Regions from separate parts of the Homo sapiens genome. Here regions 1, 2, 4, 5, 6 and 7 are each linked to region 3. The links are contacts of gene promoters, found by promoter capture Hi-C in blood cells and fetal thymus (Javierre and others, 2016). All regions are on one chromosome and are shown on one strand. Each heading gives the region's core, a stretch centred on a gene start or on the middle of the fragment in contact. The rest is flanking DNA. Distances are from core to core; before and after follow the strand shown.

Region 1 (3,589 bases), core at 215-2,714, 650 kb before region 3:
ACTTACCAAGTGAATACATGTTACAGAAATCTATTTCTCTACACTCTCTTCATTAAAAGAGAATTTGCTTCCTATCGGTATATGAGAGGGAGCACAATTTGGCAAGGTTCGAGAAGTACCCTTGAAATGTGTCAAGGCTAGATTTGTCTGCATATTTTTAACAGAAGCCCTTTAAAAAAATTTTAAATGGACAGAAATTAGGTCTTCTGTGTTGCTCTTCTGAGAAATGTGTTACTGGGAATAACAGAACACAATTGCACAGTTCACCACCTATGACGCAGTTGTACATCCAACAAATAGTAATTAAGTGTCTTCCATGAGCCTGGATTCTCCCCGAGGATCTGACAGACCAGTAGGAGAGATAAGTGGTCAAACAAATTATAGGGGAAGCACAACCACAGCAGTGAGGACGTGATGGGTGCACACTGGGCCACAGAGTGCCTTGCCCTCCGTGGAAACTGCGAAAGGCTCAGGAAGGGCATGCCAACAGCATCGAGTGCAGTAGTGCAGTCAAGAGGGTAAAAGATGGGGGCATGGAAGGCAATGGTATTGCCTGAACCGCTCCTCCCACCAGGAAAGAAAAGTTATAACAAAGTTGCGACATATGACAGCTCAGTAGAAGTCCTTTCTGTCCATTTTGCAGCTGGTTGTAAATCTATCCTACATCCACTCATGTACGCAGCCTCAGCAGTCAGCTAGCAGGCACTTAATTAAGCATCTTTTTTGTCCTAGGTCCTGTGCTCTGTGCTATGTTTGCTTTCGCTCTGAAACTAGCACAACCACACTAGAAGTGTTGGAAAATGGAGGAGAGTTACACACGCAGACACTGTTTATTTTGGATGAACAAGCATCTCATTCCTCCTTTTTCTCATAGATTAACTATGCAGGTATTTTGTTCTTGTGAGAATGGGACCAAATAACTTATGCACAGAAGATGACTTAAAAGTCACCGACATGCCTTAGCAAAAATACCAAATGGAAAATACTTTGTAGGAGAAAATGTTGATCTCCTAACGTGACACACATGTCCGTATCATTCTGCAGCAGTTCAGATAAGAGGCAACTTTATGATGTAATGAGATGGCTTCAGAATGTAGTCTAACTCCTAAGCTACTGTTAGGATCCCAGAACCTGCCCTAAAAGTATTCTGTGATCATGGACTGTCTTCCCTACTTCATCTCATTGACTTTATCAAGTAGTTGCAAACATTTTATGCATCAATATTAGAACAAAAAAATAAGAAAACTCTTGATGTAAATTCATTTTTAATAACCCTCTAACCAGTATTTGCAAATGAACTTTTAGCACGTGTACACATGCACACACACCCGGAAGTAGCCACAAACCAAATTAGACTTTAATTTGTTAACTGTGGTTTTCTAATTTCAGTTTATAAAGAATGAATATTTCCAGTTCTGACCCCCAGAGGTTCCATTTTAATTGTTATGGAGTAGAACAGGATAATGCACTCTAGTCATCTGATGTTACTGAACCCCAGACCACACTTTAAGGAACAGTTCTATCTCTCACAGTAAGTTTCTGGTTGTGTAGCGGTGATAATGTCGATCATGATGGATACTTAGTGATGTTTATCATGTGCAGGCATTAAGCTAAGTATCTTTCATCTGTAGAATAGCCCTACCTAGTAGGACTGTCATCATGACCCTATGTAGAGAAGGGCATTAAGTCACTGATCAATGGTGTAACTTGTCCTGTGTCACATAGGCAAGTTTGGACCCTTGAGTCAGGTTCTCAACAGCCTCCCAACAAACATGCTACTTTTATTTATAATTGTTTAATGCAAAAAGGCTCTTCACCGCATCTGAATCAAACTTTGAGGGAATACTGTACCAGTTATGTGTTTTTGCATAACAACCCACCCAGAACTTACAGGTTTACATAAAGTAGTGATTGTTTTACTATCCCTCTCAGGCTCTGGGTGTCAACAGAGATCACTGGAGCAGTTGTCACTCTCGGTCCTTCATGCAGCAAGGTGGCTGGAATCATCTGAAAGCTGGTCACGGGCATGTCTGGTGCCTCAGCCATCTGAGGACTGTGACTCCTTGGGTGTCTCTCTCTGTCTGTGTGGTCTCTCTGCATTGCCTGGGCAGCATGACAGCTTCAGGGTATCCAACTTCTTACAGGGAGAGTCAGTGCTTCAGGGGCATGTGCTTTGGGAGAGAGAAAGCAGTAGATGCAGCATCGCTTTCAGGGAGCCAGTTTTGGGAGGTGAGCAAACTCCCTTCTGCCACGTTCCTTCCATCACCTCAGTCCCAAACACCAAACCAGGTTTAGGAAAGGAGAAACAGATTCTACCTCTGGAAAGGATATACTGTGGTGGCCAAGGTGTTGGAAAGTACCATCTGTATCAGTCCACCCTCTGGACAAAACAATTTGTATCCCTCTGTCATACAAACTATACTCACCCCTACCCCAGACTCCCCAAAGCCTCCTTCATCATCTCATCTGGCTCAGGTTCAAGGGCCAGATCGCATCGTCTAAACCAGATCCACATGTGCCGGTGCCTCCGGTACGATTCCTGAGAGAGACAGCGCCTCAAGTGTGTCCTCTTCTAACTGAAGACTTGTGGCCTAAAAAGACAAGTTGCCTGATCCCCCCACACAAGCAAAATGCATCAGAGGGACAGGTAGAGAATAACTGATGCATGCTTCTGCTCAGACACAGGAGGGAGATCAGGCGACACACAGTGGTCATTGGTGGGTAGCAGTTGTGAACAAGAGCTGGATGCATGTTGCTTATGCCTTCATGAGGATGAACAAGAGCTGGATGCATGTTGCTTATGCCTTCATGAGGATTTAGTCCAGTTCCCAGGCTGGAAATAATTTTCCGTAGCTCTTAGGTCTATGTTCTGGAATCTTGGTTCCCCACTTTTTGACTAATAATTCCCAATCCACAAGAGGTGACTTATGTTTGGGGCTAGTAGTTTTTTCAGCCTGCTTCTTCCTTATCAGGGTTGTGTTGTTGCTGTTGTTTAGAGGTGAGGTCTTGCTATGTTGTCCAAGCTGGAGTGCAGTGGCTATTCACAGGTATGAGCATAACGCACTGCAGCCTTGAGCTCCTAGCCTGAAGTGATTCTCTTGTTCAGCTTCTGGAGCAATTGGGACTGCAGGCTCACATTGCACCTCGCCAAAATTTTGAGAGACCAAAGTTTCTTCATTTTTGTGTTCAGGCTGCTCCTTTCAGTGTAAACTGATAACATTCATTTAAAAGCTTTGTGACTTTCTTGTGAATCAATTCATAATCCACCTGATTAGTCAAAAGCCACACCCACAAATCTTTCTGAGATAATCTCTTCTCTATCTGGAAGCTCACTGAGTACTTCCGTGGGTCAGTGCCCTTGATATTCTTAGAAGACCTGTGGTTTTGCTTCCTTGAAAAGACCTATGAAGCCCCTCCTTGATTTTTTCTGTGTACTTCATGAAGGGTCTCATAAGTGTGTGCTTGACTTCATCTTTAGATCATGTTTTTCTGAAAATTCCCTGAATTTTATTTCTGCTTGGAAGTCATTTCTTTTCTTTCTTTCTCCTTCCTTCCTTCCTTCCTTCTTTCCTTCCTTCCTTCCTTCCTT
Region 2 (3,909 bases), core at 842-3,341, 820 kb before region 3:
TCTGAGGGAATAAGTTGGTCTTCCAGAAGCCAAGAGACTTACAGCTAAAGGGGCTTCCTTTTCCTGTAAGAAAACCTCAAGACTGTGAATAAGCATCTCCACCTAGCACATGTGAGTCCATGAACTTGAAAGATTGAGGGACAGTCTAATGCACAAAGGTATGTGGGCTTTGAGACTCCCATTTTGAGTGAGTTGGATCTTTTTTTGTTGTTGTTCTCTAGTGTTTTCGAGAGTATAGCCCTGAACTTGTCTGGCCACTAGGCATATGGAAGACCCATGTAGTTTATTCATAACTTGCCATCAGTTCACATTAAATTGATCACATTTAGCAATGAAAATATAATCTTAAATTACATCAAATTATTTCTAAAGAAAAACTAATAAAGTTGTTAAGTTTGTTTTGACTTTTCTAAAATTGTTTAGCCTCTGCATCTCTGTGAATTGTCAGCTGACACCCAATGACCACCGAAGGTATTAACAAAGTCCTTGTTTAAACCATTTGGAGAACCCATACATAGATTCCCATAATTTCACATATAGAAAATTGGCACCCACTGATGAACAGGGATGCCATGGATCTTCCATTCCACTCTCTTCACTGTCCACTTTTCCCCCAGTGGATCCAAAGGCGTGTGGCCCTCTCTTCCCACAGATAACAGCCATTCTCCCCAAGGAGGCATCACCTCCACTCGGGTGTTTCATGAATTCCACCCAGACCAAAGCCATGCTCTGCTCATTCTTTTTAGGAATTGTGAGGTTGCCAGGGCTTCTTTTACAGTGTTAGCACGTTTGAGAGGCAAACAGCACCATTGTAGGGCTTCCCAAATGAGCTCAATCACCTCTCTGCCCGACTACAGCAATCACATCGAGAACTGCGGATTGTTAAATATTTTTTTTTCTATAGCTCTGAATAGGTTTCTACCCAGGGTTTCACCACTGTGATTTAGAGCATCATCTTAAGAACACACCTTGTGAGACAGAGAGGATTTGGTGTAGAATTTTCTTAACACTTCTCCTCTTTCATGGTCTGTTTTGCCTCATTACTGAAGAAACCCTTTTCCATTTTGTGATACTAGCTGGCTGTTTCTAATGTAATATTGAAAGGCTTCCATTAAGTATTTGCCATTCTTTTGCTTAAGAAAATTGCAAACCTTTGAACCAGATAGCTGGGGGAACACGTTAAAATTACTGTTGATCTGAAAGGGCAGCATTATGGATAATATTATGGTGGCTGCCAGAAATGTGTCTGTTTTATGGTGGTCAACATTATAGGCAGAATTGTTCACAACTTTTCAAACTGAGTTGCCTTATACTTATTTCAGTGTAACCAAATTAACCATTATATGAAACCATTCTCACTTGTTTTGGTGTAACGCTATTAAAAAAGCATGACTTGTGGTATAATGAAAACATGTTTTCTAATGTCCCACCTCCTTTTCACATTTATTCAATGGGGGTAATATTTTTCTGACTCTGAGATAAAACTTAATCAGGTCCCGAGACTTTTCTGGTCACTTTTAAATAAATCACAGTTCTATGGACGCTTTAATCCTGAAATAGCCAGCATTGGAGCAGAAATTAAGTATGTTCAAAGGTGAGAGTTCCCCTCCCTCTCCCACAGGCAAGGCCTGCGGGGGCAGCTGTCATGCTCCTGGGCTGCCGCACCCCAGTGTCGAGGTAAAATAGGGACAGGAACAAGGAGGTGAGGGATTTCTGGACTTGCTGATTGACATCTTAAGGCTTTCCTGGCCACGAACATGGCTGTCACTGACCCTTTCTCTTCAAATCCTCATAAATTGTCATCACTGGGATTCCTTTCCCTGCAATCCTCAAGACGTGTGAAATGCATGTGTGTGTGCTGGTTGCTCCCACCCCCTCCGATAGTCCAGGGCAACCCTTCAGACTCAGGTTCACCTGGCTAATAGGTTGAGGCCCCACACTTTCCCAAGTGTGCCTCTTAGACAAGAATTCTTGGGGTTGAAGGTAGAGAGGGGCTAAAGAATGGGAAAGTGTCTTGAGGAGTTGTACACACTCCAGTTGCTCACTTTTTATAAACAAAGTCCATGATCTAAAGTGTATTTAATTTTTATAAAGGATATCATCCATAGGATTCTGAAATGAGATACATGATTGGAGCTACTAAAGTATAATGAAAAATAACTGTTTTAAAAAAAGATCAATAATTTTTGCAAGCTCTAAAATTGGGCCTATTTTATAACGCAGCACTTACATCCCCAAGATTGAATTAGCAAATGTTAAATTCAATGTTAAATTTAAAATTATTGTTTTTCCTCATTTGAATCCTTCTTCAGGGTTTTGCAAGCACATAGAAGTTTGGGCAAGTACAGGGTTATAGAAACTTTGGAGTGTTCTCCAAATGCCTTCAAACATCAAAACCTATCATTTATTTCAACATCAGTTCTGAATAAAATGGTGTGTGTGTGTTGATTATATATATATATATATATATATATACACATATAATCTACATGTATGTGGATATATTATCTATATCTGTCTATCTATCTATCAGTCATCTCTCTATCTATCTAGTCTACAGTAATCCTATAGAGGGTTATTTGAGTATACTTTTATTCATTCATTCATTCTTGTCAACTTGATATGACATCCACTTTTTTGGGCAGCATAACTGGACTAATATATTATTAATAATGTTAAATATTATGTATATTAATACATTAAAATAAGTTGAGTTTCTAACATATATATGGAGATCATTTTTTCACTAAGCCTTTGGTTTCTTATGAATTCTTATATTACATTCTTATAGTATTTTAGTTGACCTAAACATAAACATTTAAAAATATTATGATTAATCGCATTGATTTCTCATGAGTTAGTTATTTGGTTATCCAAGCCTGTTTCTTTGACACCCAGGTTACAAAAACTTGTTTATTTTTCAGGGTTATTTGAAGGTTAAATGAGGTGGTGCATATTAAGTTGTTAGGAGAGTATCTGACACAATGGGAATGGTGGCTGTAATGATAATAGTGATGGGGCTAGGCGTGGTGGCTCATGCCTGTAATCCCAGCATTTTGGAAGGCTGAGGTGGGTGGATCACTTAGGTGTTTGAGACCATGTTAGGCAACATGGTGAAACCCCATCTCTACCCCACCCCCCAAAAAAATACAAAAAAGTTAGCCAGGTGTGATGGTACATACCTGTGGTCCCAGCTACTTGGGAACTGCTGAGGTGGGAGAATTGCTTCAGCCCAGGACGGTGAGTCTGCAGTGAGTCATGATTGCACCACTCCACTCCAGCCTGGATGACAGACTGAGACCCTGTCTCTCTCTCTCTCTCTCTCTCTCTCTCTCTCTCTCTCTCTCTCTATATATATATATATATATATATATATATATTTACCAGCCACAGCCATCACTATATGTATGTGTGTATATATATAGCCATCTATATATATATATATATAGCCATATATATATATATATATATATATATATATATATATATATATATATAGTGGCTGGTAAGAAAGCATCTTAGTTTATATTAGCTTATTTATGGGGAAGGGGAGAGTTGTAGAAAACAATGCAGATGACTCACATGGTGGACACCCAAGATGCAGCCCAGTCTTCCTTTTACATTTCACTCGTGATCTTTTTGTTTCACAGAGTAGCAGATAAGGGAGATATTTTGTTCTTGGGAAATAGATATATCAGGATTCACAGAACACTATTAGAGATAGGGGCATTGTTTTTTAGTGTTTTGCTCGGGTGTGACTTGTAGTAAGCGAGGATCATCGATTTGCATTGCTCAACTGCCACTCTTTCTCTTAGGGCACAGGTCTGACATGTTTGTAACATGCCTGTCTAGGGTCCAGAGTGGTTTGTGGTTTTTTAGTATTGCAAAAATAAGGTCCACATGGGTTAG
Region 3 (3,951 bases), core at 1,059-3,558:
GGCAGAGGAGGGCTGGGGCACCGGCCGCTGCCGGGCTGGCGTGGTCAGGGAGTAGGTCCTCTTGCGCAGCCCTCGGTCCAGGTCCTGGGCCGCGTCCCCCGAGACCCGGCGGTAGGAGCGGCCACAGTGGCTCAGGGGCCTGTCCATGGTCATGTACCCGTAGAACTCACCGCCGCCGCCGCCGTCTCGGGCCGGGGGCGTCTCCGCGATGGACTCGGGCGTGTTGCTTCGGTGGCTGCAGAAGGCGCGCAGGTCGCCTGGGCTGGAGCCGTACTCGTCCAGGGACATGAAGCCGGGGTCGCTGGGGGAGCCCGAGGCGGAGGCGCTGCCGCTGGAGGGCCGCTGGCCGGGGCCGTGGTGCAGCGGATGCGGCAGAGGCGGGTGCGGGCCGGGCGGCGGCGGGTAGGAGCCCGAGCCGTGGCCGCTGCTGGACGACAGGGAGCCGGGGCTGGTGGCGGCGGGCGGCGAGTGCGCCACGGGCATGGACATGGAGCGGCTGTGTTGCAGCGCGCCCCCTGCCGGCAGCAGCGCCACCTTGCTCCCGCGGCCGCCGCAGCCGCCGCTCAGGGTGTGCGAGCGGCTCAGGGGCGCGCGCACCGGCCCGGGGCTCAGGGGGCTCCCAGCCACCGACACCGGCCTGGCGCCCGCGGCCGCCGCTCCCGCCGCCGCGCCGCCGTCGCCCTCGCTGGCGGTGCGCACCCGGCACGAGCTGCACTTGGCCGCCGGCGGGGTGGCGGCCAGGCTGTCGGTGCGCGAGCGGCGCACCAGGCCCGTCTGGCTGGGGGGCAGGTTGACCAGGTGGTGGTGGCGGCGCGCGCCGGGGACGCTGATGGGGTGCGTGGCCGACGACCCCGACGATTGGCTCTTACTGCGCGGCCGGAACTCGAAGAGCTCCTTGAGCGCCTTCATGGCCTCCAGGATGGTCTCGTGGATGTTCTGCGCCACCACCGAGTCGTCCGCCTGCATCCACAGCTCGCCGGGGCCTGTGACGGCCGAGCGGCCCACCTCGATGAAGAAGAAGCTGTCCGAGTGGCCGCAGCGGCGGATGTTCATGAGCTGCAGCGTCACCGACGGCTGCTCGCAGTTGAGCTTCACGAAGCCGATGGTGCGCGCAGACAGGCACAGACGGTACACCCCCGTCAGGTTCTTGCTCTGGCCCAGACCCTTGGGCTTCAGGTTCACCTGCCACACCTCACGGTAGGCGGCCGTGGCGGGAGCCACCAGCCCGTAGCTGTCCTCGGCCCCGGCGGCGCCGGCAGAGCCGCCCAGGGCGCCGGGCAGGGAGGCGCTGCAGGACGCGGCGGGCGCGGCGGCGGGGGGCGCGTCTCCGGCGGCCGCGCGGCCCTCGCTGACCAGGTCGGTGAGCGCGCGGTACCAGCCCTCCTGCTCCTGCTCGTTCTCGGCGGCCACGGCGAAGTACTCGTCCTTGGTGTAGAGGGCGATCAGGTACTTGTGCTTGGCGTCGGCGCGCTTGTTGATGTTCAGGCAGCAGTCGAGAGCGATCACCCGTTTCGGCGCGCCTGCCTTGCTCCGCCACTTTTTCTCGCTCTCGTAGTACTCGAGCCGCGGCGGTTGCGGCGCCGACCCCCCGCCCGCCGTCGCCTCGTCGCCGCCCGCGCCGGGTCCGCGCAGCACGAAGAAGCGCTTGTGGCCATGCTTCTGCTTGCGCAGGTAGCCGCACTTGCGCACGCTGTGGTTGTTGTTGTTGTTGTTGTTGTTGAGGTTGGGGCCGTCTCCGCTCGCCGGCCCGGGCGGCCCGTGCCGCGGCGGGCTCGCCATCGCGGGCGCTTCAGGCCGCGCGGCCCGGGCCCGGCGCCCAGGGGTTGGGGCGAGGGGCGGAGGGGGCGCGGGCGGGGGCGGCTCCCTCCCACCCTTGCGCCCGGCCGCCCGCCCGATCACGCGTCCCTCGGGCCCAGGCGGTGGGGAAGGTCCGGGGAGGCCCGCGGGGGCCAGCACCGCTCGGCGGCGCCGCGCCCTCCGCGCTCTGGGGCTCCTGAGGATGCCCGGCGCGGGCGGTGGCCGCCCCCCTCCCCGGCTGCCTGCGGCCGCTGCCTCCTCGGGCTCTCGGGCGGCGCCGGGGGACGCGCTCGCTGGGCCGGGAGTCGGGGTCCCCGAGCCGCGGGGCCGAGCCTAAGGCGCGCGCGGCCGCACCGGGGCTGCTGCCGCCGCGTCGCGCTCCGGGAAGCCGGGGTGCGCCCGGGCGCTCGGGGTCCGCGCCGCCGCCGGGGCTGCTGCTGCTGCTGGTGTTGCTGCTGCTGCTGCCAACGGCGACCCGGGCTCGTCGCGGTCCCCGCCGCACAGTGAGTAACACATCGCGCACCGAGTGACTGAACTAAGAAGAGCAAAACAACATGTGACTCGGCGTTACGCAGGCACACACAGCGCGGCCGCCCCGCCCCGCTGCCTCGCATTGGCGCCGCGCCCCCCGACGGACGGCGCGCTCGGCCAATCGGCGCGGCGCTCGCGGGGGCGGGCCGCGCGCCCCCGCCCCGCCCCCCTTTCTCCCCGGGCCGCGTTTCCCGCCGTCCCCTCCCCCTCCCGCGAAGGCCCCGGCCCGGCCGGGCGGGGTGGGGCGGCCCCGGCCTCATTAATCAGCGGCTTGTTGTGGATGCCGGCGGAGGAGATGCCACCCAGGGCGGGAAAAGGGGCGCGGAAGAGGGGCGGGGCGGGCCACGGCGCGCAGGGCCCTTCCCTCCCGCCTCGGACTCAATTAATTGGGCTTGAGCTTCCGCCGGGGAGGGGGCGCCGGGCGGGGCCGCGGCTGGGCGGGGCGGGGGATCGGGATCGGCGGCGGGGGCTGCGGCCTTGCAGTGGAAGCATGGGCGGCGAGCCGGGCCGTGCTCTCGGGGCGCGGGGTCCCCATTTTGGGCGAGGGCGGCCGCTCCCGCGCTCGGGGTGGGCGCGCCCCATCCCCGTCCCCCGTTTCCCGTCCCCGTCTCCCGGCCGCATCTCCGTCCCCCCGCAGCCGCGAAACGCGGGGAGGTTCCAGGGCCCGCGGCCGCGGGTTCGCGAGCACCGCGCTCCAGATCGAGAGCGGCGCGCGCCCTTCCGTGGAGGACAGAGGGGCGCGGAGGGGGCGCCTGTGTCCCACCCGCTCGCGGGCGCTTTACGGGGCGTCCTCTGCGCCATTCACTTGTCAGCTTGTCGGGAAGTTGAAATCGCGTTTGGGAGGTAATAGGAGAAAGAGATCGGGGACGGCAGGCGGAGAAAGTGCGGTTTCCATAGCGCCGGGGAGAGGGCGGACCCGCGAGCCAGCGGTCCCTGAGCCGGGAGACCGCGCGGGCGTCTCTCCAGCCCCCGCAGGAGCGCCGCCTTCCTTCCGCAGGGGCGTCCTCTCCCCCCACCGCTGCAGGAGCACCCCCTTCCTTCCTCGGAAGCGTCCTCTCACCACACCGCTTCAAGAGCCCCCCCTTCCTTCCACAGGGGCGTCCTTTCCCCCTCCGAGGCAGGAGCGCCCCTTTTCCCCCCACAGGAGCGCCCTCCCCACCCCAGGAGCGCCCTGCGCCCAGCAGACGGGCAGGTGGGCGGGCGTCCACTACCTGTGTGCGCGGTGCGGGCGGTGACTGCCAAGTTGGAGATGCCCTTGGAGAACTGCTTCGAATTCATGTATCTACTGGGCTTTTGTGACTTTCAAAGCCTATAGCAAATAAGCACCCCTGCAATTACGTCTCCTCAATGACCAAGTCAGGGTGAGGTGAGGGCTTCCTGAGTTCAGATCCCAGCAAGCTCCCGATCCTGCGCAACGAAGAAAACTCAACAAAACAGGCTTTGGCTGTTTATTTTATTTTTTTTTTAATTGTGCCTTCATGAAATAATTTACAGCAATAATTTATCTTATAATATTGGTTATTGTTTTTAAGTCCCGGATGTTTACTTTTGGATGTCCTCTATAATTCATAGAAGTATCTTAAAAGTAATAAAATCTTAATCTAAGAGAAAATAAGTGTAATT
Region 4 (3,582 bases), core at 358-2,857, 640 kb before region 3:
TTTTGAAACAGAGCATGTTCTTCGTGTGCCCCCTGCCTTCTCCTCCTCTTTTTCTCCCCTTTCCTGGAAAATCCTTTCTACCCACCTGCCATAAAATACCTTCTGCAGTACCAGGGATGCACAGCACACGTGATAGACTAGGATTATTCCTCACATCCAAAACTCGTGTCTCCTCACTTTCCGTTTCTCTTTTTCTTGGCCTCTTTAAAGTTTTACTTGGGACTGAGTTCCTAATTACTGAAAAGAAATTCACACTGAAATTGTACTCACTTGCAGAGTAGCCCAGCATATTTTTTGTAGGACACATATGACTTGCTGGGGATGTGGACTTCAACCTCATAAGTGGGGTGTCAGATGCCTGCCCCAGACCCACCAGAAATTAAATGGGTGGTGGGCCCTCACCTAGCACCAGGAACCATGCTAAGAACTGTACAGACAGATGATCAGCAGTGATTCTCAATAGCGACCATGATTGGAACAGGGGAAAGACAGACAATCAAAAAGTCTTCATCGTTTGTCTCTACAGCAACTTTCTTTAAACAGGCAAAAATCCATTCCTTTCTCAATTATGTGTACGTAGAAACCGACATCGGTAACAGCAAAGTGAGAAACATGACTAAATAAAGCCAGGGCTATACTCACAGCCCCTCAATAAATATTTGTTGGGAAAATATAAAGCTCATTGCTCTCGTGACTATGCTGTTCCCGCTAGGTCATGCCACTTCATTATTCTTTGAAACCGAGGAGCAAAACCAAGCAGAAGGTTATGACTATTAAATATTTAGATCAATCTGATCAAAAAGGTACCCTATGAATTGCATGAACTGTCCTGAGAAATTACCTTAACATATTAGCTGTAAATCTGCGGCAGCTAGCATGTCAGTCAGACCAGAGATACGTATCTAGCGTAAAGAGGTTATCATTTTTTAGATTAACCAAATGCAACAAAGAAGCCTTTACAACCGGGATGCTCTATAATGCACCGTCAGTGGGGAAAGGATCTATTGCACCTGAAATTCTGAAAATAAGGCAGACTTCTCAGAAGTGGATTCTCTTTCATAACCAGTAAATATTTTTCATACTATCAACCCACTAAAGCAAGCAGCTATTGTATATTGTGTCTCTACACTGGATTGCAAATTAAACTCCCACTGGGGGCTCTAAAGAGAAATCCAGCCCTTTATCCTCTAAGCCACTCAGCAGCTCTCCTTAAGCAAGTTAATAAAGACCTTCCTGACTATCTGCATCTCATTATTGCCACATAATACAATATCCTGGGGTTTTCTTCCTTTTGTGAAGAAATGCTTAGAAGCAACATGGTGCATGGAATATTGTCCTAAAGAGAGACTGGGCAGGTGCCATGCTCTTTCTCTCCTGAAGAGTATTGGAAGAGAAAAACCTATTTCCCAATTACCTACCAGTGTTTAGGCTCCTTATGCCTGACTTCAGTCATTTTTATGATTAATCCCCAGATTAGCCTACAAAATTTCACGCCATCGAGAGTGAGCTATATTCAATATCACTTCACCCAGTGCTTCATTCCATGAATCAACACAGCCGTCCACCATGTACTCTGTGCAGAGCTTCTCAGGCCTTTACTGACTCCATCCTGGTTTCTCCTTGAAATCTTCAGTTTTCATACTTAGACCCTGTACATGGGCAATTAGTGGCCATTTGCAAATTTAATAACACATGTTAATTATGACAATAAACAATATGATTCATTTCTCTCCTCCACGCAAATGACTAAGTTCTAAACTATGCAGAGCCCAAACAAGGTCAGACATGAACTAGATCCGAGACTTGCACTGATTTACAGCAGAACACTGACTGCGAGAGACACCTGAGAATTTGTGCATTACCTGAAGTCCTAAAAGCCCAAAAAGAGCTTCTTCATACTGAAAACTCTGGCTCAAAATCAAACATAACCCTTCAAAAGAAATCTCCATTTTTAAGCAGGAAGAAGTGATATATGCACAATTGGTACATGAGGGTGTGTCCCTGAAAAATATGTATGTTTTGGATTTTGGCTTTATTATTTTCCTTTTATGTGAAAAGCTGGATAAACTGGGAAGAAGTAAGTGAAAATGAGAAGACTTAGGCAAAGCAATGAGTGAAAACTTTCACCATACAGGCCTTTCCATGTCACTAAAAAGCAAACCAAAGCTCACAGCTATGAAGTTACTTGCTGAGGCCACATCCGTTTGGTGACGTTACATTCCCTTAACTTCAGCTCTCAGGCGAGATGACGTGCTGGAGGGGGTCAGACTGGCTTTAACAGCAGGATGGAGGGGACATACAGGAGTGCAAACAACCAACTTAAAGTAGGTGGCCTCCATCGTACTTCTGCCAGTTCACAGATCCTTTCTTAAGTAAATAACCAGTGCCCAGCAGCAGATCCTATAAGGCAAAATAGCATACATTTTTAAAATTTTTTATGAGAATTTGATTGACTCTGTCTCTTGGTATTTAACTACCTTTGTATATATTACCAGTAATAAAGCCCCCTTAGTAACAAAGTCCCCTTAGATTTTTAATTGCTAAATTGCCTTTCGAGTAACTATTTCAGTCTTTAAGGAAAGAGAAGCTACGGGACCTTGATTTCGGAGATAGGAGCACACTCTTGGTGTTGTTCTAGTTCCTTCTAATCACACCCTATTTGCACCACATAAACATTAGCACAACTAGAGATCTGGTTGAATCACTTACATGTCATTCCAGACAGTAAAACTCTAATCGTGAACATTAATTTCACTGATGTAGTTGCAGCTTAGTAGGGGGTCGCCACCATTCACTTACCCAGGCTTGAAGTTATCTCTAATTTAGAGGTTAGGGACAGTGACACAGGAAAGAGGCTCTGTGCTTTATATCTGGAGATGTGGGATCATAAAAACGTCTTTTTAATCTGATGATCATTAAAACACCCGGTGATGTGGCACAGCTGCTAATCGGAATACATTTCCATTTCTGCGGGGATTGAGCATGTCTTCGGAACCCTCTGCAATAGCTTTAGAAACAAACGTTCCTTTTATCAGGTGAGAAAACTACCCTATGGCATGCCTCCGGATATGTAGTTCTTCCTAGGCTACAAAATATCAGAGGTTAACTTCAGGCAAAATGATAAAACTAGCAGTAGTATTTCCTATTACTATCTGCAGTTTGCTTCAAAATTTCAAAAAGGTTTCGGAAAAATCACTAAATACGAAGGGCACACTTCATTCATTTATTCCAAGGAATCTATTTGGTGCCAGACATTGCATGGAATTGTATGGATTTTTAAAATGAAATGTGGGCTCTCTCTTAAGCAGACCATGGCAAGGAAACTTGAAAACTCCGACGCATCCAGGGGACGAGACTCACATTTTACATAGAGATACTACTCGGGATTCACAAAACACGACGTATCCATGACGCTCGTTCAACACTGCATTTTTACTCATGGTATTCTGTTCTCTTTCATTTTAAAGTGCGTGTCATGACCCACTAAATTGATTTCTCAGCTCACAAATATGTCCTCTGAAACACTGGTCTACAGGGGAGGATTTATACGGGCAAATAGGAAACAAAATCTCCAAAGAGAAA
Region 5 (3,906 bases), core at 859-3,358, 800 kb before region 3:
ATAATTGGTTGAACACAAGGAAGTATTTATCGTTTTTGTGGGAAGGAGTAAAGTCATTATACTGAAGATACCCCCAAGAAGTGGACCTCCGCTTTGACAGCGTAGCATGTAGCTGACGTGTCAGCAGACGTGGGAGGAGACCAGATATAACTCTTAACGATCAGTGAAAACACTAGTGGGAAAAATACGGCGGTCAGTGTATTTAACTTCATGAAGAATGTATTTTCAGTTCTTCCTGAAGTTCTGGGCCACTCAAACATCTTGCTGGTAATTTGCTTCCTTGCTGATATCTTTCTACTGATAGATGATGCTTGAGCTTCTTGTAGTAGCCAGAGCCAACCGTAATAATTTCACTATTCTAACATCGTGTTTGATTTGGCATTGCCAAAATGAATCTGCATTTAAGTGCTTCTCATTTAACAAATATTTATCTAATAATCTATCACAGTGCATAGTTGTGATCCAAGTGAGCATACATTTTGTTTGTTTGTTTTCTACTGTTTTATTGACGTATGTATTAGTCTGTTTTCACGCTGCTGATAAAGACATACCCGAGACTGGGTAATTTATTAAGAAAAAGAGGTTTAATGGACTCACAGTTCCACATGGCTAGGGAGGCCTCACAATCATGGCAGAAGGCGAAGGAGGAGCAGAGGCACATCTTACATGGCAGCAGGCAAGAGAGCGTGTGCAAAAGGAACCACCTTTTATAAAACCATCAGATCTCGTGAGACTTATTCACTATCATGAGATTATCGTGAGAAAAATCTGTCCCCATGATTCGATTACCTCCCAAGGGGTCCTTCCCATGACACATGGGGATTATGGGAGCTACAGTTCAAGATGAGATTTGGGTGGGAACACAGCCAAACCATATCAAGGTAGAACATAGCTACAGTGCACGTTATGTGTAAAGTTCAGTATATTTTTATACATGTAATCTCCATAAAGACTAAGATGTAGTCTGGGCATGGTGGCTCATGGCTGTAATCCCAGCACTTAAGGGAGGCTGAGGTGGATGGATCACCTGAGGTCAGGAGTTTGAGACCAGCCTGGCCAACATGGAGAAACTCTGTCTCTACTAAAAAAACAAAATTAGCTGTGTGTGGTGGCACATGCTTTTAATCCCAGCTACTCAGGAGGCTGAGGCAGGAAAATCACTTGAACCCGGGAGGCGGAGGTTGTGGTGAGCCGAGATGGTGCTATTGCACTCCAGCCTGGGCAACAAGAGCGAAACTCCGTCTCAAAAAAAAAAAAAAAAAAAAAAAAGATAGTATTCAGGCTTTTAAAGTCTGAGTGTGGCTTTCACTAATATGAAGGATATAATTGATCTGTTATTATGTATACTCTTCTCACTACTACAGTTATTGATGAACTGCTCACTTTCTTATCTCAAATGCAGACAGTGCCCTTTTTGGTTTCTGAGGAGAACAGAATTAGACTCGGGTGTAAGACCACCAATTGGAAATAGTTTTCTGCAGAGCTTCATAGAACTTACAGACACAGGCCCTACAGCTAGATGGCCAAGTTCAAATGCTTGGTCTATCTAATACTCATCTGTGTTTGGGGGCAGCTTACTTCACCATTCTGTATCTCAGTATTCCCTAGGATTAAATGAGGAGAGGCATTTTTAAATGCTCCTAACAGTGCTTTGTGCACGGGACTCCAGTGTTGACCTACATCCTGGATTTTCTCTAAGTCTAATTAACTGCAATGTTCCTCGCAAGGGGTCCGCAGTTCTGTACTTCCTAACATATATTTCTGTGGGGAAAGGTGCAGGGAATGACTGCATCTAGGAAGATGCTAGTTTGTACAATACCATATAGAATAGAGAAGGCCGGACGGCCTCTCTGGTTACTCCCAGCCTCTAGTGCAACTGTCAGAATTGCAAAGGCTTTCCATAATTTCTGGCATGGTTGCAGAAAGTGAGAAGTCTCAAGTACTTTCTTCAAAGAATAAAAGAGAGGAACCCCCAAAAGTATGCAATCCTAGAGTCCCACTTCTTCCCCCCAAGTTTCTCTCATAGACTAAAAAACACCCTGAGAGGTTGAAATAAGGTAAGATTTAAGCAGGGTTCACCTCCACAGCGAGGCATCAGGCCAATTAAGGAAAGCAAAACTTTTTGTAAATGAATAAATCAGCATATTGACAGGGCAGTTGGTGAATGCCATAGCATAGCTCGGCATCTCCAGGGACTTTCTGGCACTAGCCTCTATGTACGTGCAGCTGATCCCAAGGGCAGTAAGTCTGGACAAGATTGCTCACGTCTGGAATGTGTTTATATTTAATTCTTGCCCCATCTGGGGTCCTACTGGTCTAACTCAGTCTAAGGGTTTTTGTGCCAAGCAGGGTTAAGCTACTTCCTAAACTGACTACTTGGAGAACTCTCTAGGGAATCTCCTTGCCTGAGGATAATTGAGGACAAAAGCTGCCTTGTACACACCATCAGATTGTTCTGCTCAGATGAAGTGAGTTTACCCGTGTTCTAAGATAGGCATTCTCTTTAATTCAGTCCTTTCTCCACTCTATATCTATCTACATAAAAGGTAAAATGAAAACCAGACTGATGTCTTGGCGTTTAATATTTTGTCTGATGTAAAGGGTGTTGCATTTTACTAATATGTCAATGCAAGCTGACAGTTTTGTTAACTATCAAGAAAGCTCTCGGGAGAATTCTAAGGCAGAATTTGAACTGAAACAGATCATCTAATTCATATGTTAATTTTGCCTATAGGATTGAGTCTTGGCTGGATCACATGACCTCTCTGCTCCCAGTTGTCAGAAATTGAATGTTAAGTTAAATGCCTGTGGAATAGGAGTCAGATATCAATAAGGGGAATGACAGTCAGGTCAACTGCTACGTAGTATGGGCGTTTTGCTGGCTGAAAGTTTTTATTACTATCCTGCCAATGTTGCTATTGCAGTAACAGACGCATATTTCAGTCATAAATGATGAAATAAATTATTTTAAATGATCATGTTATGCCTGTCAGTAATTGCAAAAGTCGTCCTTAAAATGCTTTAAACTTGCATTTAGTTTTTCTCCTGACAATGGAATTTTCTTTTTTTTTTAAAACCAAATATGTTTGGATTCAGTATCTATAAAATGTGAAAAAAAGCATTTAGGAGGAATACCCTTCCAATCAAATGTATGCCACTCTAAATTACCAATTAATAATTCACTTTCCCCAATGTGAACCCATCCTTTAATGATTTTGCCCACCCACACATGCCACAGTGGCCAAATAATCTCTTCTCTGTGTGTTGATGCAATTTGCCATCCTTGTAAGGGAGGGAGGTAGGTATGAAGTGACATGGTGTCACTGATCTCTGCTGCTCTTTTCCCTAAATTCTATCAAAACAATATGCCATGATTATAGGGTCTCTTCTGCCAAGGTCAACTGGGAAGCAAGGAGGGTAATCGGACCTGAGAGCCTGACATAGGGACCCTGATGTCAGTGGATAGAGAGGCATCTGTGCTCGGGACCAGCACCCGGCCTTCAGGGGAGAGACCCAGTGCTTTTTCTCCTTATTCCTGAAGTTGTCCCTGCATCGGCAGCATCTCTTACCACTGGCAAAACCAGACACTTTTCTCCTACCACGATGGGGCTCTAGTATCCCCTCTCTGCCCTTAAGGTTATTGGTGTCAATTTTCTCTACAAAATTAGAAAATGCCCAAATATATTTTTTAAATGAGGTTAAAGATAAATATTCTTATAATACTAGTATAGAACATTTAAGAAATTAAGAAATCACCTCCAGGTCTACCATCTTATTACAGGTACTGTTAACATAGATTTTATTTTTCCTGTGGCTTAGGTTTATTTGACATAGTTCAAATTATACTTTAAGAATACTAAAGGTATACATTTTGTTTCTGGCTTTTGTTTTGGGATTAATGTTGTT
Region 6 (3,628 bases), core at 1,068-3,567, 600 kb before region 3:
AATATTCTTTTGTTTTTGTAAAGAACATAAAAAGTTATTATGCATATTGATCATATTCAGGTATTCATCGTAAGAAACCATTCATGGTCTTTGATAAACTAATGGCAATCTGGGACCCAAGATCTTAATAAATATCCAGCTCACTCCTGCCATAGCTGCCGATGAAAGCCATAATAAGATCAATATGCAATTGATTCACATCAAAAAGCAAATTGTTATGTGGTTTGCTTTACTGAATGATCAAATAAACCTTTTTGTAATGTCATATAAAAACAAAGTTAAGAGTTGCAGAGCACTAAATAAATCCAATGCCTTCTTTCTATATTCATTGTATTTGTTATATAGACTGAAATATATTATAGCATGGAATTAAAACAAATTGTGTGTTAGATAAAATAATGAAATGTGGAAATATTTAGTTTAATCATTAAACGATAATTCTAAAGATATGTCAGGGAACGTAAGTAAGATAACCCTTTCAAAAGGAAACATATATAAATATATATTTTATATAACCATATATGAGCTACAAAGAGAAGGAGATCTAGCACACAAAGCTCTTTCACACAGCCAAGGTTCAGGGAATCCGTACTCACCACTCGTGACTTACAGATTATGTGCAAAAAATGAAGGTAGTAAATTAAGTTGATGTGTGAAATGGCAGCATTTTCAACAGGGAAAGGTCATGTCCAGTAGAGATAAATAGAAATTTAGAAAATAAAAAACAAAAACATATCCTATATTTTGTATTTTTCCATCATAAAATTGCACTGTATTTATTAATGCAACATAAGTGTATATAAATGCACAGTTTTTTCTGATTAAGACACTATTTATTATCAGTGAGGAGGATTTAATTGCCATAAATTTTGAGAAAATAAGAAGTCAGAGTAGTGACTATGTTTTTTTTTGTTTGTGTGTGTGTTTGAGATAGTCTCCCTCTGTCCCAGGCTGGAGTTCAGTGGCGCAATCTCGGCTCACTGCAACCTCCACCTCCCAGGTTCAAGTGATTCTTCTGCCTCAGCCTCCCAAGTAGTTGGGATTACAGGCGCGTGCCACCACACTTGGCTAATTTTTTTCTTTTTTTTTTTGAAATGGATGGAGCCTCACTCTGTTGCCCGGGCTGGAGTGCAGTGGCACAATCTCAGCTCACTGCAACCTGCACCTCCCAGGTTCAAGCGATTCTCCTGCCTCAGCCTCCTGAGTAGCTGGGGCTACAGGCACATGCCATCATGCTCGGCTAATTTTTTATATACTTTTTTCAGTAGAGACGGGGTTTCACCATGTTGGTCAGGCTGGTCTCAAACTCCTGACCTCAAATGATTTGCCCCCCTCCCTCCCAAAGTGTTATTACAGGAGTGAGCCACCGCACCTGGCTGTGACTACATTTTTAAAGAGGAAAAAGTCTTGTGATATTTCTGCAAGCTCACCTTCTAGATGGGAAACCTGCAGTTAGCAATATTATTGTATAGTGGAGGAGTAACAAAGTAATTAGAAACATTTGGCTAACTATAAATTCTAGGTAACAACAATTTCAATATTAATTTAATTGGTTTTTAAAGTGAAGAAAATAAGAAAAGAACTAGATAAGAATCCCAGATTCATCATTCATCATGTAAGTGCACAAAAAAGTAATTTTGGGGGTCAATTAGAGAAAATATATGTAACATGCCTAGCATGATGCTGCCTGGAATACTGTAGGTGCTTAAAAAAAAAAAAGCTAAAAGCTTACTTGCTCTTGTTATTATGGTATTCCTTTCTTTGCAGGGTCAATATTCTGAAAACCAGTTCTGATTTTAACATTGTAGATGCTATCCAAAATATGGAGGAGATTAGATTGGATCAAGAGAACCCAATATTTTTCTGGGATTTTGGTCAAATCTATTATATGTGTGATTTTTAAAATATGATTTATTATGGAATAGTATAAACTTAAAAAACAGTGATTAATGAAACATCACCTTTAATAAGTCTTAACATTTTGCATTATTTACTTTAGAGCTACATTTTTGGAAAAACATGTATCCTAGCTCTCAATCTCATCCCTGCCTACCACACCAGAAGTGAATCATCACAATGAAGTTTGCACGTAGCCCTTCATCCATGTTTGCACCTTTACTGAGCATAGGTGTACTCATAAATCATATAATATTCACAAGTAATAACCAATGCTATTCATGCTTTCAAAGTGTAAAAAAAAATCTCACTTTCTACAGATTATTCTGCAAACAGCTTCTTGTTTTTGCTGTGGTGGGACTTTTTTTTCCATTTTGATACATGCATCTCCCACTTGTTATTTTATTCTAAGAATTAGCTCCAGGTGAAATGTACAGACTTTAGGGTTAACAACTGTAGTCCCCGCTACTTGGGAGGCTGAGGCAAGAGGATCACTTGAGCTCAGGAGACTGAGGCTGCAGTGAGCTGTCTTCACACCATTGCATTCCAGCCTAAGCAACAGAGACCGTGTCTCAAAAAAAAATTAAATTAAAAAACAACTTTAGGGCTGAGGTATCGATACAATAAGAAACTATTGATGACCGACACATACTTAGTGCAAAATTATACTCATATTCCTTCAACAAGCATGGCAGGGAGCAAGCTCAGGAGGAGAGGAAAGCATTAGGGACTGAAGGGCAGGTGTCACACGACCTGCTGCTGCTGGCCCTAGGGTGCTGTGGTGCCTCAGGGGGACAGATGAGCACAAGGCAGATGGTGTTTTCCTCTGGTCTGTTGTGTTGTGGTCCACAGAAAACCTAATTCAGTGATCTCCATGAAAGGTGCAGGGAGATCGATGATGCTCTGTGCTCAGTGCCAATATGCAGGTCATATTGTAGTTTACAACTTCACTAGAGGGCTAGAAGTTACAGCACCCAAGGAAGTGAGCATACATTCTGGCCAGTGCCTCTATAAGCTTTTCAACACACACACACACACACACACAAACACACACAATCATATTGCTTTTTAGGTGCAAACATGCCTCCTTCATTGGAAACTTTTCTGAGAAACAAGTTCCATATAAATGTGGTCATGGCATTTCTTAAGAACATGTTTACAGTTTGACCAAAGTGAGTGGAAAACTTACATCAAAATCATTTCCAAGTTATCAATGTTACAAGCCATGCTACAATTAACATCACTGAAAATGCCTCTAACTTACAACTGGGGGAAACAAAAAAATTGCCCAAGATTCCCCTAGAAATGGAAGTGCTAAGTTTCTGCTCATGGACATTTTCAACTGTAGTGGTTATTACCAAATTACTCCCCTAAAAGGTTAAACCAATGTATGTACTTCTAAAAGGGAGTAAAGTTTTCCATCTCTCCTGGTAAACACTTGGTTTAATTATTCATTTAATTTTTGCCAATATGATAAATGTAAAATGGATCTTATTGTGGTTTTATTTTATTTCCTGGTTGCCAAGCAGTATTTTCACATATTCTCAGACTTGTTAATCCAAATACATCCTTTTCTTATTTCCCAACTTGTTTGCATGATTTTCTTGATGATGTTAGGAATTTTCCACATATTCTGGATAATATTCCTTGCCAGTTTCATGCATGGCAAACATTTTGCTTATTGTGTTTTCTTGGTCGGTTTAGCTAGAAGTCTATCAATTCTATTGATTTT
Region 7 (3,954 bases), core at 794-3,293, 670 kb before region 3:
CTAGACTAGGGCTGTTTTTAGAGCAAGAGGGGTTAACATTTTTAAAGATTAATTTTGTATGAAAATGAAGCATTTTAATTGCAGAAAAGAAGCTAGCATTCACAGTAAGACCTTTCTCATTAAAATATAATCTATGTTAATAAAATATTCCAATGATTGTAGACTTTTTTTTTTTTTTGAGACGGAGTCTTGCTCTGTTGCCCAGGCTGGAGTGCAGTGGCACAATCTCAGCTCACTGCAACCTCCGCCTCCCAGGTTCAAGCAATTCTCCTGCCTCAGCCTCCCAAGTAGCTGGGACTACAGGCACGTGCCACCACGCCCGGCTAATTTTTTGTATTTTTAGTAGAGACAGGGTTTCACCATGTTAGCCAGGATGGTCTCAATCTCCTGACCTCATGATCCACCCACCTCGGCCTCCCAAAGTGCTGGGATTACAGGCATGAGCCTCCATGCCCGGCCGATTGTAGACTTAAAAATAAAGGGATAGCATCTAACCCAATCCTGACAACAGTAATGATATTATTCAGTGAAAACTCCATTCATAAGAATGCTATGGGCCCTGTACAATATATAAAGAAGGTTCACATTGGTTTTCTGCTTCAGGAGAGTATACGGGAAGCTAAAATAATAGTAAATAGCATCTCTTTTAGAGAAATAAAAAAGGGTTAGCTCATATTATGGAGGGCTTTATAGGCAACATAAAATCATTGAAGTTTCTAGAAGACCAATAAATTGAAGTCAGTGTGCAAGGTGAGTTAAAAAGCAGATAAAGGAGAGATGATGAGTTAAATTCTAGATTTTAGTCGGTAATAATCCTATATCAGAGGTGATGGCACTGGAAATATGAAACTCAGCATCTTTGTTTCTTTAATCCTATTAGATGTATTTTAATAAAATAAATCAAATAGTTTAAATAAGTTGAAAATATTTAAGATTTAATTTTTGATGGCCGGGCATGGTGGCTCATGCCTATAATCCTAGCACTTTGGGAGGCCGAGGCAGGTGGTTCACCTGGGGTCAGGAGTTCGAGACCAGCCTGACCAACATGGAGAAACCCTGTTTCCACTAAAAATACAAAATTAGCCAGGCACGGTGGCGCATGCCTGTAATCCCAGCTACTCAGGAGGCTGAAGCAGGAGAATTGCTTGAACCTGGGAGAAGGAGGTTGTGGTGAGCCGAGATCATGCCATTGCACTCCAGCCTGGGCGAAACTCTGCCAAAAAAAAAATAATTTTTGTAGACAAATGAAATTTTAAATATCTGAGGTCATGTTATAGCAAGTGCTTATTCAAAGCATTTTTTAAAATTCTGCCTTCTCCATTGTACACATCCATTTACTTTCATTTCCTTCACCTTAATACATGTGAATTATGAGCTTTATACTTTTCCAACATTATCTGAGCTTATAAATATCTCACAGTTAAGTTGAATAGTCAGACAGATACACAAATAAGAAGAAAACCAGGACTTCAGTGCTACTGTAGAGATGTATACAAGGTACACTAGTGACATGGATGTACTACTGTAATTGATTTATTATTATAAGATACACACTAAACAGGAGAAAAATGAATTCCCACTTTGGATCAGAAAGCAATATGATATAGTTGGAGAGTAAGTAAGCTTGAATGTATTGAATAAGTTCTAGAAGCCTACTATACAACATTTCACTGCTATTTAACAACACTGCATTATATGCTTAAAATTTTATTAAGAGGCTAGATATCAGGCTAAGTGTTCTTACCGCAAATTTTAGAGGGAAGGTGAGGGAGGGAGGGATGGAGAGAGGAAGAAGGAAGGGAGGAAGGAAGGAAAAGAAGGAAGGAAGAGAGGGAGGAAGGGAGGGAGGAGACTAAAAGGGCCATACAATAAAAAAGTCTAATAAACCTTTCAAAGGCATTTGAACATCATCCTGAAAATCATTACAGGCCACTAAATAATTTTAGACAAGAAAGGAACATAATGAGATTGATATTTAGAAAGATCACGCTGAATATAGTTTAAAAAATGGACGCATGTAGACCCATGATAATTTATGGAGCTACTGAAATTATTCATAGAAGTAAACAGGAAGTGGGTTCTAGAAACCTCAATAGAACTTATGACTAAATGGGGACTGGGAGAAAAGCTGTAAACATACTTAGGTGATGCTTGGGGTTCTGGCTTGGGTGATGAGGTGATGACGACTCCATTAGCCTAGAAAGGCAAGAGTGGGTAGGGATGGATGAGATGGGAAAGTGTGGGAGAAATGACCTGTGGAAATCTTTAGGGCTTGAGGTGCTCAGGGAACACCCAGGTAGATGGTCCTTTTGGTCACTGAGCTAGAGAATCCAGGATAAGATGGAAACATATGAGTGAGGCTAGGGTGCCTATGAAACATCGACATAAATGTGTGCACAAGGAGATGGGCTCCATAGGTATGGACTCGGGGATAAGATGAGCTCTCACGAGCAGTCTGTATTGAAAGCTTTTGGAATAATGAACTTACCAGGAAGATGATGAAAAGTAAGAGGAGAATTCAGTGAAGAACTCTGAGGATAGCTAACTTTTCACTGGGGAGCAGCAACATAGCAGCTTTGGACAAACATTGGAACAGAGATGACAGACACACAGAGCAGGGGACCAGGTGAGCTTGTCAAAGAAGTTAAGCTTCAAGAAAAGAGAGTGACCCAGGGTCTTACTCCTGAAAATGTGGTCCACAGACCACCGTCACCGACATCATTTAGGAATGTGTTAGAAATGCAGAATGAATCACTGGCCCCATCCCAACCCACTGGAACAGAATCTACATTTTGACAAGATCCCAAGCGATTAATATGCATTTTTCAGTTTGAGACTTTATAGGATCAAGGGTGTGTGCTTCTTTTAGTCTGGAGCCTAGAGAGCTCCGATTCATCTTATCTCTGGCACTAACTTTCTGTGTGGACTGTGTGAATGTCATACGTCCTCTCTAAAACATACCTTTTTCTCTTGAAAACTGAAGAGGTTGATCAAGATGATTTCTGAGATCTAACTAGAACAGTGTGGGTTATGGGCACTCTGTTTCTTTGCACCTCCTTTGTAGATTATTAATCCTACTAGTGTAGTCTATTGTGGATATCACAAGTGCACATTTCCTTAGAGGAAATTGTACTATTATTCCGAAATAAATTCTATCCAATTTTCTATGTCTCCATAAGTAACTGAAGTGTTTTATGTTGTTTTAATTGACGTGTCCTTCTTCTGTCAAAGCAGAACCATGTGACCTGAGCTTTCTCCTTTACTTTACCTGCATGGGAAACAATTACTGATTGTATTTTTTAGTAGCAGTAAATGAGTAAACTAAATTAAGTGACACATACAATACAAATAATATATGCCTCTTCAACTCCCAAAGAATGCATAGATATAACAAAATGAGAGGCGTCACTATTTTTCTAAACTACCAATATGTAAGAAGAGTTCTACATTAGATGTTTTTCTCAATTTCATTAATATAGAGAGAAATGTGCATCATAGAAAAATATCAAAGGATAATAGCTATATTTTTCCTTTGTAAATGCTATTTCAAAAGTACTGCCAGAAACACTCAGCACTCCTAAAAATTGTCTTTTAAAAAAAAAGAAGTGCTCTACAGGTTCCCTTGAAGTCTCTACTAACACAGCTTCCGTGCCACCTACACTCTAGCACAACCACCGTTCCAGCATTTGTCTGTACCTCCACAGCCTACACCTCTCAAAAAAAAAAAAAAAAAAAAAAAAAAAACACCTAAAAATTGTAACAGTAATTGGAGCTTTGGAAGTCATCAATGACAATTTTGTTTAATCTTTTAAAATCTGTCACCTAACAAGAAAAAAAACCTAATGGTTTTCTAATAAAAATAGCGATGACTGTAATTCACAGATGGTTTACTTTTACAGGAGTCAGAATGACATTAACATTTTAATCTCAGCTAGGAACACTCTGCATCTAGCA

The links. Contacts are between HindIII fragments. The CHiCAGO score rates a contact against its expected background, and 5 or more counts as called.
Region 1: a contact is called between a fragment that was not itself captured here and the fragment with the promoter of IRS2 in region 3, in 3 of 17 cell types (M0 macrophages, M1 macrophages and megakaryocytes). The highest score is 8.0, in M0 macrophages.
Region 2: a fragment that was not itself captured here is called in contact with the fragment with the promoter of IRS2 in region 3 in 6 of 17 cell types (M0 macrophages, naive CD4 T cells, M2 macrophages and 3 more); the score reaches 7.5 in M0 macrophages.
Region 4: a fragment that was not itself captured here is called in contact with the fragment with the promoter of IRS2 in region 3 in 6 of 17 cell types (M0 macrophages, M2 macrophages, M1 macrophages and 3 more); the score reaches 13.0 in M0 macrophages.
Region 5: a fragment that was not itself captured here is called in contact with the fragment with the promoter of IRS2 in region 3 in 1 of 17 cell types (endothelial precursors); the score reaches 5.6 in endothelial precursors.
Region 6: a fragment that was not itself captured here is called in contact with the fragment with the promoter of IRS2 in region 3 in 1 of 17 cell types (monocytes); the score reaches 5.2 in monocytes.
Region 7: a fragment that was not itself captured here is called in contact with the fragment with the promoter of IRS2 in region 3 in 1 of 17 cell types (M1 macrophages); the score reaches 5.2 in M1 macrophages.

What each region holds. Positions count from the first base shown.
Region 1 is chr13:109,132,512-109,136,100 of GRCh38, forward strand. The region is part of intron 31 of MYO16 (myosin XVI); the gene reads left to right. Among named protein-coding and RNA genes, the nearest start is that of MYO16-AS2, 32 kb to the left of the region's middle. The HindIII fragment of the contact is 3,529 bases long and covers 1-3,229 here.
Region 2 is chr13:108,968,901-108,972,809 of GRCh38, forward strand. All of the region lies in intron 20 of MYO16 (myosin XVI), which reads left to right. Among named protein-coding and RNA genes, the nearest start is that of MYO16-AS2, 130 kb to the right of the region's middle. The HindIII fragment of the contact is 8,355 bases long and covers 1-3,909 here.
Region 3 is chr13:109,784,275-109,788,225 of GRCh38, forward strand. IRS2 (insulin receptor substrate 2) reads right to left here and starts at 2,309. Exons shown (of 2, transcript NM_003749.3): 1 at 1-2,309. The coding sequence starts at 1,779. It overlaps LOC124903211 (WAS/WASL-interacting protein family member 1-like), which reads left to right and starts at 2,810. Exons shown (of 2, transcript XM_047430835.1): 1 at 2,810-3,171; 2 at 3,326-3,951. The coding sequence starts at 2,819. The coding sequence ends at 3,563. RefSeq lists an enhancer at 816-1,445 and silencers at 2,287-2,516, 2,537-2,706. The HindIII fragment of the contact is 25,501 bases long and covers 1-3,951 here.
Region 4 is chr13:109,149,683-109,153,264 of GRCh38, forward strand. The region is part of intron 32 of MYO16 (myosin XVI); the gene reads left to right. It overlaps LOC105370356 (a long non-coding RNA gene), which reads right to left. Exons shown (of 5, transcript XR_931717.3): 2 at 86-2,400. Among named protein-coding and RNA genes, the nearest start is that of MYO16-AS1, 16 kb to the right of the region's middle. The HindIII fragment of the contact is 5,221 bases long and covers 1-3,582 here.
Region 5 is chr13:108,985,378-108,989,283 of GRCh38, forward strand. The region is part of intron 20 of MYO16 (myosin XVI); the gene reads left to right. Among named protein-coding and RNA genes, the nearest start is that of MYO16-AS2, 110 kb to the right of the region's middle. The HindIII fragment of the contact is 4,460 bases long and covers 1-3,906 here.
Region 6 is chr13:109,183,692-109,187,319 of GRCh38, forward strand. The region is part of intron 34 of MYO16 (myosin XVI); the gene reads left to right. LOC124903207 (a long non-coding RNA gene) reads right to left here. Exons shown (of 2, transcript XR_007063864.1): 2 at 1-3,628. Among named protein-coding and RNA genes, the nearest start is that of MYO16-AS1, 18 kb to the left of the region's middle. The HindIII fragment of the contact is 1,184 bases long and covers 1,726-2,909 here.
Region 7 is chr13:109,111,527-109,115,480 of GRCh38, forward strand. The region is part of intron 28 of MYO16 (myosin XVI); the gene reads left to right. Among named protein-coding and RNA genes, the nearest start is that of MYO16-AS2, 12 kb to the left of the region's middle. The HindIII fragment of the contact is 844 bases long and covers 1,622-2,465 here.